Linked DNA regions of Homo sapiens: regions 2 and 3 are each linked to region 1. Evidence: promoter capture Hi-C in human tissues and cell types (Jung and others, 2019). All regions are on one chromosome and are shown on one strand. Each heading gives the region's core, a stretch centred on a gene start or on the middle of the fragment in contact. The rest is flanking DNA. Distances are from core to core; before and after follow the strand shown.

Region 1 (2,567 bases), core at 21-2,520:
CCCAGGGCCAGAGCTCAAGCTCCTGAGCCTCCAGGCTTGGGTCAGCACAGAGCGTGTGCATGGCAGCTGCTTAATAATTGGGTTTACTACATTCCAGATTGACATGTACAGTGCTGAGCTGGAATCGACTTTACAACCCTAATTACGGTGTGCCTGGTTGTGTATTCAGCATTTATTTAAATAGTATTTTTTTTCTTAAATGTTGATTTCTGAAAGAGGCCTTCCCCAGCTCTCTCTATTTCTCTCCCTTAGCTGCCTTGGCTTTTCTTTTATAATGAGAATCACACCCTGTAATTCTATGTTTATATTTACAGGATTCTATGTCCAATGACACTGAGTGCAAGAAGGGTAGAGACCCAGCATCTTTTACTCACCTCTTTAAACTCTGGCTTATATATATAGCCTGGTGCTTGACAAGTATTCATGATAGGGGTTAAGCTGAGTATACTGTTGAATAAAACCACAATAATTATTGGTCGCAATTCTCTTGAATGTCTTCTCCAGAGCACTAAGTAGTGTAACTTATCAAGTTTCCTTTCTTGCATTGGCTGTTAGGAAGCTCAAAGCCATATCTGCAAACCCTTCATAGCAAGTCTGTAAATCAACAAGAGCATTTATTTTTGATCCTGTTCTCATTTGATGTTCCAAATTTTGTTCTTCAATCTTCTTTTGTTACATGTTATTTCATGCTCTCATAATCTATTGTATATGTCCTTGTAAGACACTTTAAACAACATCCTTGCTTGAATTAAATAAATTGCATAGCCTGTCGAATTTCTGGCCTGCAAAGAAAAAGAATGCCCTTTCCAACATCATGGTATGTCTCCAGAGCAATAAACCACCCTCAGGTTACCTGATTTCTGGTGTCCAAACCCCTTTGGGAATAAGGTTTACATGACTAGGGGTAGTTGAGTGGATGAGAAGCTATTTCCTTCCAATTAGGTGGTTAGGTGGTGGTGGAGGTGGTGTTCTGAAGTCAGCAGACAGAACTACAAAATCTCACAGAACGTGTTTTCCCTGCTCTGACCATGACCTACGGTTACTGGGGAAGGAAACTGCTTCCCCAGGTCAACCCGGCAGCCTCAGTAGGTGAGGGGCACTGGGTAGAATACTTGGGGTGCCAGGGAGGCATTAATGCGAGAGGAGTCAGGTGCTCAGTTTTTATTGGAGTTGGGAGGGCAGCCCCACATCAGGAAGAGAACCTGTTTCTGCAGGATGGTCCGGGGAGAAGGGAGGACTCCACCCAGGCTTGTGTTTGCCCTGCTCTGTGTATTCAGCCAGCAGGCTCTGCACAAGGAAGCAAAGTGCAGGGAGCCAGGCTCCACCGACAGCCAGGCACTGGGCAGCACGCACTGGAGACCCAGGACCCTGTGCAGGAGCAGCTCCGGGTGACACGAGGGGACTGAAGATACTCCCACAGGGGCTCAGCAGGTAACTGCTTTCAGATCCTTTAGGCATGGCTGGAGGGTTTGCTGTTTGTGGTAGACGGTGTCATATAGAGGCCAGGGGTCAGACAGGGTCAAGTTTGATCCCAGCTCTGCCTTCTGTTCACTGTGTGGCCTTGGATATGTGTAAGCCTCAGTTCCACTATCTGTGAAATGGACCCAAAGATAGCACTCATCTCAAAGTTTTTAGTTTTACAAGGAGCAAATGACAATGTGGTCAGTGTTAGGCGCATAGCCACATAAATAACTCCTATTTGGTGGAACTATTGAGGGTCATTTCAAGCACAGGACATGGGGAGAAGTCACTGGATGGAGGGATAGGCTGTGTGATTTGGGGATCCGTCAGGGCAAGAATGCCCCATAGCCGAGTGGAATCTGAGCCTTCACCTCAGGCATTGCCTAAAGAAGTGGGAGGACAAGAAAAAGGACTTGTGGAGTGCCTTTTGTGAATCTTATTTAACGCTCAAGACCACCCTATGAGGCAGCTGCTGATTCAAATCCTGGCTTCAGGACCCCTGCTGTTTACATCTCCCTCTGAACCAGTTTCCTGCCTGGAAGAGTCATTGCGATTAGAATGCGGGTGCGCTGCAGCCACACCGCCAGATGCCAGCCCCAGCTCCACCCTGGGCTGGCTGGGTGCCCTGGAGCAGGTTCCCTCAGCCCTCTGGGCCTCAGTTTCCTCATCTGTAAAGTGAACCTAATAACAGTACTGAGATCAAAGGGCTGAGAGGACTCTACTGCCCGTAAATACCTGTGCACTTAGTAACTCTTAGCTGTGGTTCTTGTTTTCGCTGTTACCATCGTCTCCATTTTACAACTAGGAACATGAAGCTGGGTGAAGAGGGAGCTGCATCTGGTTCCAGGTCTCATGGAAAGGATGCTGTGGAACTGGAGTCCAGTCGGGCCTGGGATGAGGGTGCAGCCAGTGAGACTCTCACCTTGGGCACGAAATGTAAGGGATGCCAAAAAACTCAGTCATGGAGATAAACGGTATGTTAACACAACATTTTTAAAAGTCAGAATTAATGGCAAGACACCCGTGATGAACAAACTATGAACATGTTACAGAAAGATAAGATCAGGAACAGCGGTAATTTTGATTTTCACAAATTTCATGTTAAA
Region 2 (2,567 bases), core at 24-2,523, 850 kb after region 1:
AGCACCTGCTGGTGGTGACATTCATAAATCTTTGTCGATTAACTGGACCTGCACTTGATGAATTTTGCTCTCACTGCTGGTCTGCATTGAGGTACACCACTGAAAGCTGAGTGTCTGTAGAGAGGCAAGAATGTTGAAGATTTCAAGGGTTGGTGGCAACAGTGTCCCAGAGGGAGAAAATAAAGCAATGCCACCCTTGGGTACTTGGAGACAGAATTCTAAAGTCATTTGTCAGAAGAGGTAAAATTTGTGGGGAGGAGGGGTAGAGTGGACTGCTGGGAATTTTTGTACAGACCCAGATGTTTTCCTGGAAATAGGAAAAAGAATGGTCTCTATCCTCTTTTTATATCTTTTAGCCTAAATATTATAAGAAGTAAGAGCTAGCTTTTGACCATTAGCCATCCAAATACTTAGGGACATGTATCCCTTAAAATACAATGCCAGTATGAAAGTCATTACCCTGGTCAGTTTCTTATTTCGCCTAACTTCACGCATCTGTAAGGCATTAGCAGTTGCAAGAGATTGATATGATAGTTTGTGAGTAATTTGAATGAACTATAACACTAACCCAGTAAAGTATTATAATTTTAAATGTGTCCAGAAAATAATTGAAATTCTGGCTTAGCTTCATCATAATGCAAACTGCTGGTTATACTTAACAGCTGAGTAGCTTAGCATGAATATTGCTTTAGAAATGGGGTCATTTTGTTTTTACGAAACAATATTGCTCTCAAACACGTTTAGGAGGGGAAAAAAAGCAAGTGATTATGAGTATACTTTTAACCTTTCTGTCTCTTTCTATCTGTGTTTACCAAGATGATTTAGGTGTTTGGTGTTGTCTGAAGGCAGACACAGAAGGTGCTGGCATTTGAAACAGACCCAGTAACAAGCCCTTGGCCATCAGATTTCTTCTTATACCACTCCGTCACAAAACCTCTGTTCTCTAGCAATCCATTTTCCTGTAGCCTGATCAGAAACAAGAAAGATAAGGACATTCCCTGCTGACCCAGAAGATAACAAAAATAGGTGGCCCCTATAGATACCCACAGTATTTATTTTTAAATGTAGTTACCAACACTTAAAAAATTGAGATTTCACATGAAAATCCAGATTGATGAGTGCTCATTGTATTAGCTCATTCTCATGCTGCTGATAAAGACATACCTGAGACTGGGTAATTTATAAAGGAAGGAGGTTTAATGGACTCACAGTTCTACATGGCGGGGGGGGCCTCACAATCATGGCAGAAGACAAAGGAAGAGCAAAGGGATGTCTTACATGGAGGCTGGCAAGGTGAGAATAAGAGCCAAGCAAAAGGGGTTTCCCCATATAAAACCGTCAGATCTCATGAGACTTATTCACTACCACGAGAACAGAATGGGGGAAACCACCCCTATGATTCAGTTATCTCCTACTGGGTCCCTCCCACAACACGTGGGAATTATGGGAAATTCAAGATGAGATTGGGTGGGGACACAGCCAAACCATATCATTCATGAATCAGAAGGTTTGGGAATACTGGGTCTACATTCCTGCCAGATGGCAATCTCTGAGCTTAGCAGATGCTGTCACCTTGAGATGCAGAACAAGCACTCCAGTTCACAACAGTTTTCTCATGGCCTGCTGTGTTTAATTTTTCTTCTTTCTATAATCATTTGAGTTTTTGATTCCTGGTACCCATTATCATTTTCTTAGTCCTTCATTCACAAAATACCCTACAAGGTGCCACAGGATGCATGACCGGCCCCTCACATCCGGGAGCAGTCAGCAAGCTTTTTCTGTGAAGGACCACATAGTAGACATTTGAGGCTTTGTGGTACATACGGCATCTGGTACAACGACTCAGCTGTGCTGTCTTAGCGTGATACCAGCCATAGACAATGCATCAATAAAGGGGCACAGCTGTGTCCCAATAAAATTGTGTCCATAAAAATAGGTTGGCCCATGAGCTAACCCTGACATGGGAGAAAAACAAAAAACACAAACAAACAAAAAAACTGGCCCTTAATCAGTAACCCTGTAGAGGAATTTTCTCATCAACAGGGAGCTTTCAATAGATGTGAGGCTAATTCTTCCCAAGTCAGTGCTCAAACTCTTAAAGCCCCACCTTTAGACAAGTGTGTGTGTATGAACGTGTGTATGTATGTGACTTAGCTCCTTCTTCATTTTTTCATTCTGAAATATTCACTGACTCTTAGTAGCTTTTTGCTCCAATTACCCCAAAGACTTTCCTCCAAGAAAAATGAAAGTTTAAAATCTGTTCCTTCATGGCAAGTTAGCTAAATGCGTTATTTTGATAATGAGGTTAAGAAGGGGTTTCCACTGAGAATGAAGGGTCATGGTAAGGAAAAATCTGAGAGCCCTCATTGTTCTTCATTTCAGAGGAAAGTGGTTTTCTTGTCTTATCTCACAGTCAGGCTTCACCTTAGCTTGTTCAATGGTGTGGATGTGAATGCTAGCTCTCTGTCTCTGTTTTTCGAGTATCCCTTGACAGATCTCCAGTTTCCTTTTGCAAAATCGAGGAGTCAACACTATATTAGAGGTGTCTAACTGGTAAATTTGAACCA
Region 3 (2,567 bases), core at 36-2,535, 550 kb after region 1:
CTGCACTCACTATTGGGGGCCCTAGCTCGGATGCCTGCCAGGCTGGGCTCAGCTGGGACTGCCTCCTACACGTGGCCTCTCCAGCATGGTGACGTCACGGAAGCCTCAGACTCCTCACACAGATGCTGGATTCCCCGGAGGGAGTGTTTCCAGGGGTCCCCTGCAGAATCAGCAAGCAACGCTTCTGACACCTGCCTCGGAAGGGCCAGAGCACCTCTGCTGTTGTGGTCCATTGGCAAGCCAATCACTAAGGCTGGCCTGTACTCAAAGGAAGAATTAGATCCCACCTCTCCATGGGCCGCGCAGCAGATAATTCGGGGTCTTGGTTAATCTACCATGTTCTTTCTCTCCACTGCAGGTGTGTTAAACCGGAGGCCACTGGGTCTCTTGGACAACTAGCAGTGAATCTGTGAATCCCCTGAGTGCACAGTTTTAAATAAATGTGCAAAATGTGCATTTTTTTTTCAGGGAAATCTGAACTAACAAGATTTTGAATCACTCACCAAATGGCGGTCTTCCTTTTAACTGAGTCTTATCTCATCCTACTACAAAAATTTCCCAAGAAAATGTGAAGAGTCTTGTAAGTCTTTCCAATAATATAGAAAAACAAAAGTAATCCTTTAATTCCCTGCCTTGCCCAGTCCTGTCCCCTCCTCGAAAATAATCCTTGCTATGAATTGATGTGTATTTTTCATGATGTTTTCCCATGCATTGCATAGATAAGTAAGGTTTTAAAAAATACAAATAGCTTCATTCTCTTCCCACTTTTTTCCTGTAACTTGGTTATTTTTCACTTTTAACATTATGTATAGGGAATGAGTTCATGCTTGTAGTTCTAGACTTATCCCATGTTGAGGAATAGCCTCCTTGAACTCAGCCAGTGAACAATCTGTAATGCAGTACCTGCACCTGTTCCTCTACCAATTCACCTGCCTCCTGTTGTCAATTTTCCACACTTGCCAGCAGTGGTGCTGTAAACAGCCTCGCTTTACCTCCTTGTGCACATGTGAGAGTAATTCTCTTGGTAGGTACCTAGAGGTGGAATTGTCAGATAATTAGATATGTGCAATACAATTAGATTTTTTTATGTTACTTTAAGTTCTAGGATACATGTGCTGAACATGCAGGTTTATTAATAGGTATCCATGTGCCATGGTGGTTTGCTGCACCTATCAATCCGTCTTCTAGGTTTTAAGCTCTGCATGCATTAGGTATTTGTCCTAATGCTCTCCCTCCCCTTGCCCCCACCCCCTGATAGGCCCTGGTGTGTAATGTTCCCCTCCCTGTGTCCATGTGTTCTCACTGTTCAGCTCCCACTTATGAGTGAGACCATGCGGTGTTTGGTTTTCTGTCCTTGTGTTAGTTTGCCAAGGATGATGGTTTCCAGCTTCATCCATGTCCCTGCAAAGGACATGAACTCTTTCTTTTTTTATGGCTGCATAGTATTCCATGGTGTATATGTGCCACATTTTCTTATCCAGTCTATCTTTTTCTAATTTTTCTTTCTGAGATGGAGTCTTGCTTTGTCATCCAGGCTGGAGGGCAGTGGTGCAATCTTGGCCCACTGCAACCCTTGCTTCCCAGGTTCAAGCGATTCTCCTGCCTCAGCCTCCTGAGTAGCTGAGACTACAGGTGCCCACCACCATGTCCGGCTAATTTTTGTGTTTTTTTAAGTACGGATGGGGTTTCACCATGTTGGCCAGGCTGGTCTAGAACTCCTGACCTCAAGTGATCTGCCTGCCTTGGCCTCCCAAAGTGCTGGGATTACAGGCGTAAGCCACTGTGCCCGGCCCAGTTTTCATCTTTTTAATTGACGATAAAATGATTTACGTTGCATGACATGGGCTCACTGGTAACAGTGGATGTCATGTGTAGTGCCTGGCACATTGTATGTTCTCAAGAAAGCTTCCTTTTTTTTTTTTTTCTGAGATGGAGTTTTGCTCTTGTCGCCTAGGCTGGAGTGCAATGGCACCATCTCAGCTCACTGAAACCTCTGCCTCCTGGGTTCAAACGACTCTCCTGCCTCAGCCTCCCGAATAGCTGGGATTAAAGGTCCCACCACTGCGCCTGGCTAATTTTTGTATTTTTAGTAGAGACGGAGTTTCACCATGTTGGCCAGGCCCATCTCGAACTCCTGACATCAGGTGATCCACCCACCTCAGCCTCCCAAAGTGCTGGGATTATAGGCGTGAGCCACCATGCCCAGCCGAAAACTTTCTTTACAGGTTATTTCTGTTTGTGGCTTAGTCTCTCTCTGACAGGAAAAGGCTGTGCAATAGAAGGGAAGGTGTGCTTTGACCTTCAGGCTGTCATTTCCCCAGCCCAGCTCATGGGCTTCTGGTGGAATTCACTCTAACCCTGAGTCCAGGGGTGGACCTGGGATGCAGGGATTGGTAATCAGAACGTCATATTCCTCTCGCCAGTCACTGGTTCGGGGATAAGCATGTGACCCATTCAGAACAATGGCCAGGAAAATGCCACATGAGGAAGAGCTGGGATTAGTCTCAGCTCTTTCTGGGTTGCCTGGGGCACACAGGGGAGGAATGAACCAGAACAAAGTCAGAGTC

The links. The method cuts DNA at HindIII sites, captures the fragments that hold promoters and counts their contacts. A contact is called where the count stands out against the background at its distance.
Region 2: a contact is called between a fragment that was not itself captured here and the fragment with the promoter of BCAS1 in region 1, in 1 of the 25 tissues and cell types used here (lymphoblastoid cells).
Region 3: a contact is called between a fragment that was not itself captured here and the fragment with the promoter of BCAS1 in region 1, in 1 of the 25 tissues and cell types used here (dorsolateral prefrontal cortex).

What each region holds. Positions count from the first base shown.
Region 1 is chr20:54,069,297-54,071,863 of GRCh38, reverse strand. It overlaps BCAS1 (brain enriched myelin associated protein 1), which reads left to right and starts at 1,270. Exons shown (of 13, transcript NM_001366298.2): 1 at 1,270-1,431. RefSeq lists an enhancer at 1,677-2,551. The HindIII fragment of the contact is 15,029 bases long and covers 1-2,567 here.
Region 2 is chr20:53,219,884-53,222,450 of GRCh38, reverse strand. All of the region lies in intron 1 of TSHZ2 (teashirt zinc finger homeobox 2), which reads right to left. Among named protein-coding and RNA genes, the nearest start is that of TSHZ2, 250 kb to the right of the region's middle. The HindIII fragment of the contact is 3,752 bases long and covers 1-2,567 here.
Region 3 is chr20:53,522,667-53,525,233 of GRCh38, reverse strand. LOC105372671 (a long non-coding RNA gene) reads left to right here. Exons shown (of 4, transcript XR_001754720.2): 1 at 1-358; 2 at 469-580. Among named protein-coding and RNA genes, the nearest start is that of TSHZ2-AS1, 20 kb to the right of the region's middle. The HindIII fragment of the contact is 7,259 bases long and covers 1-2,567 here.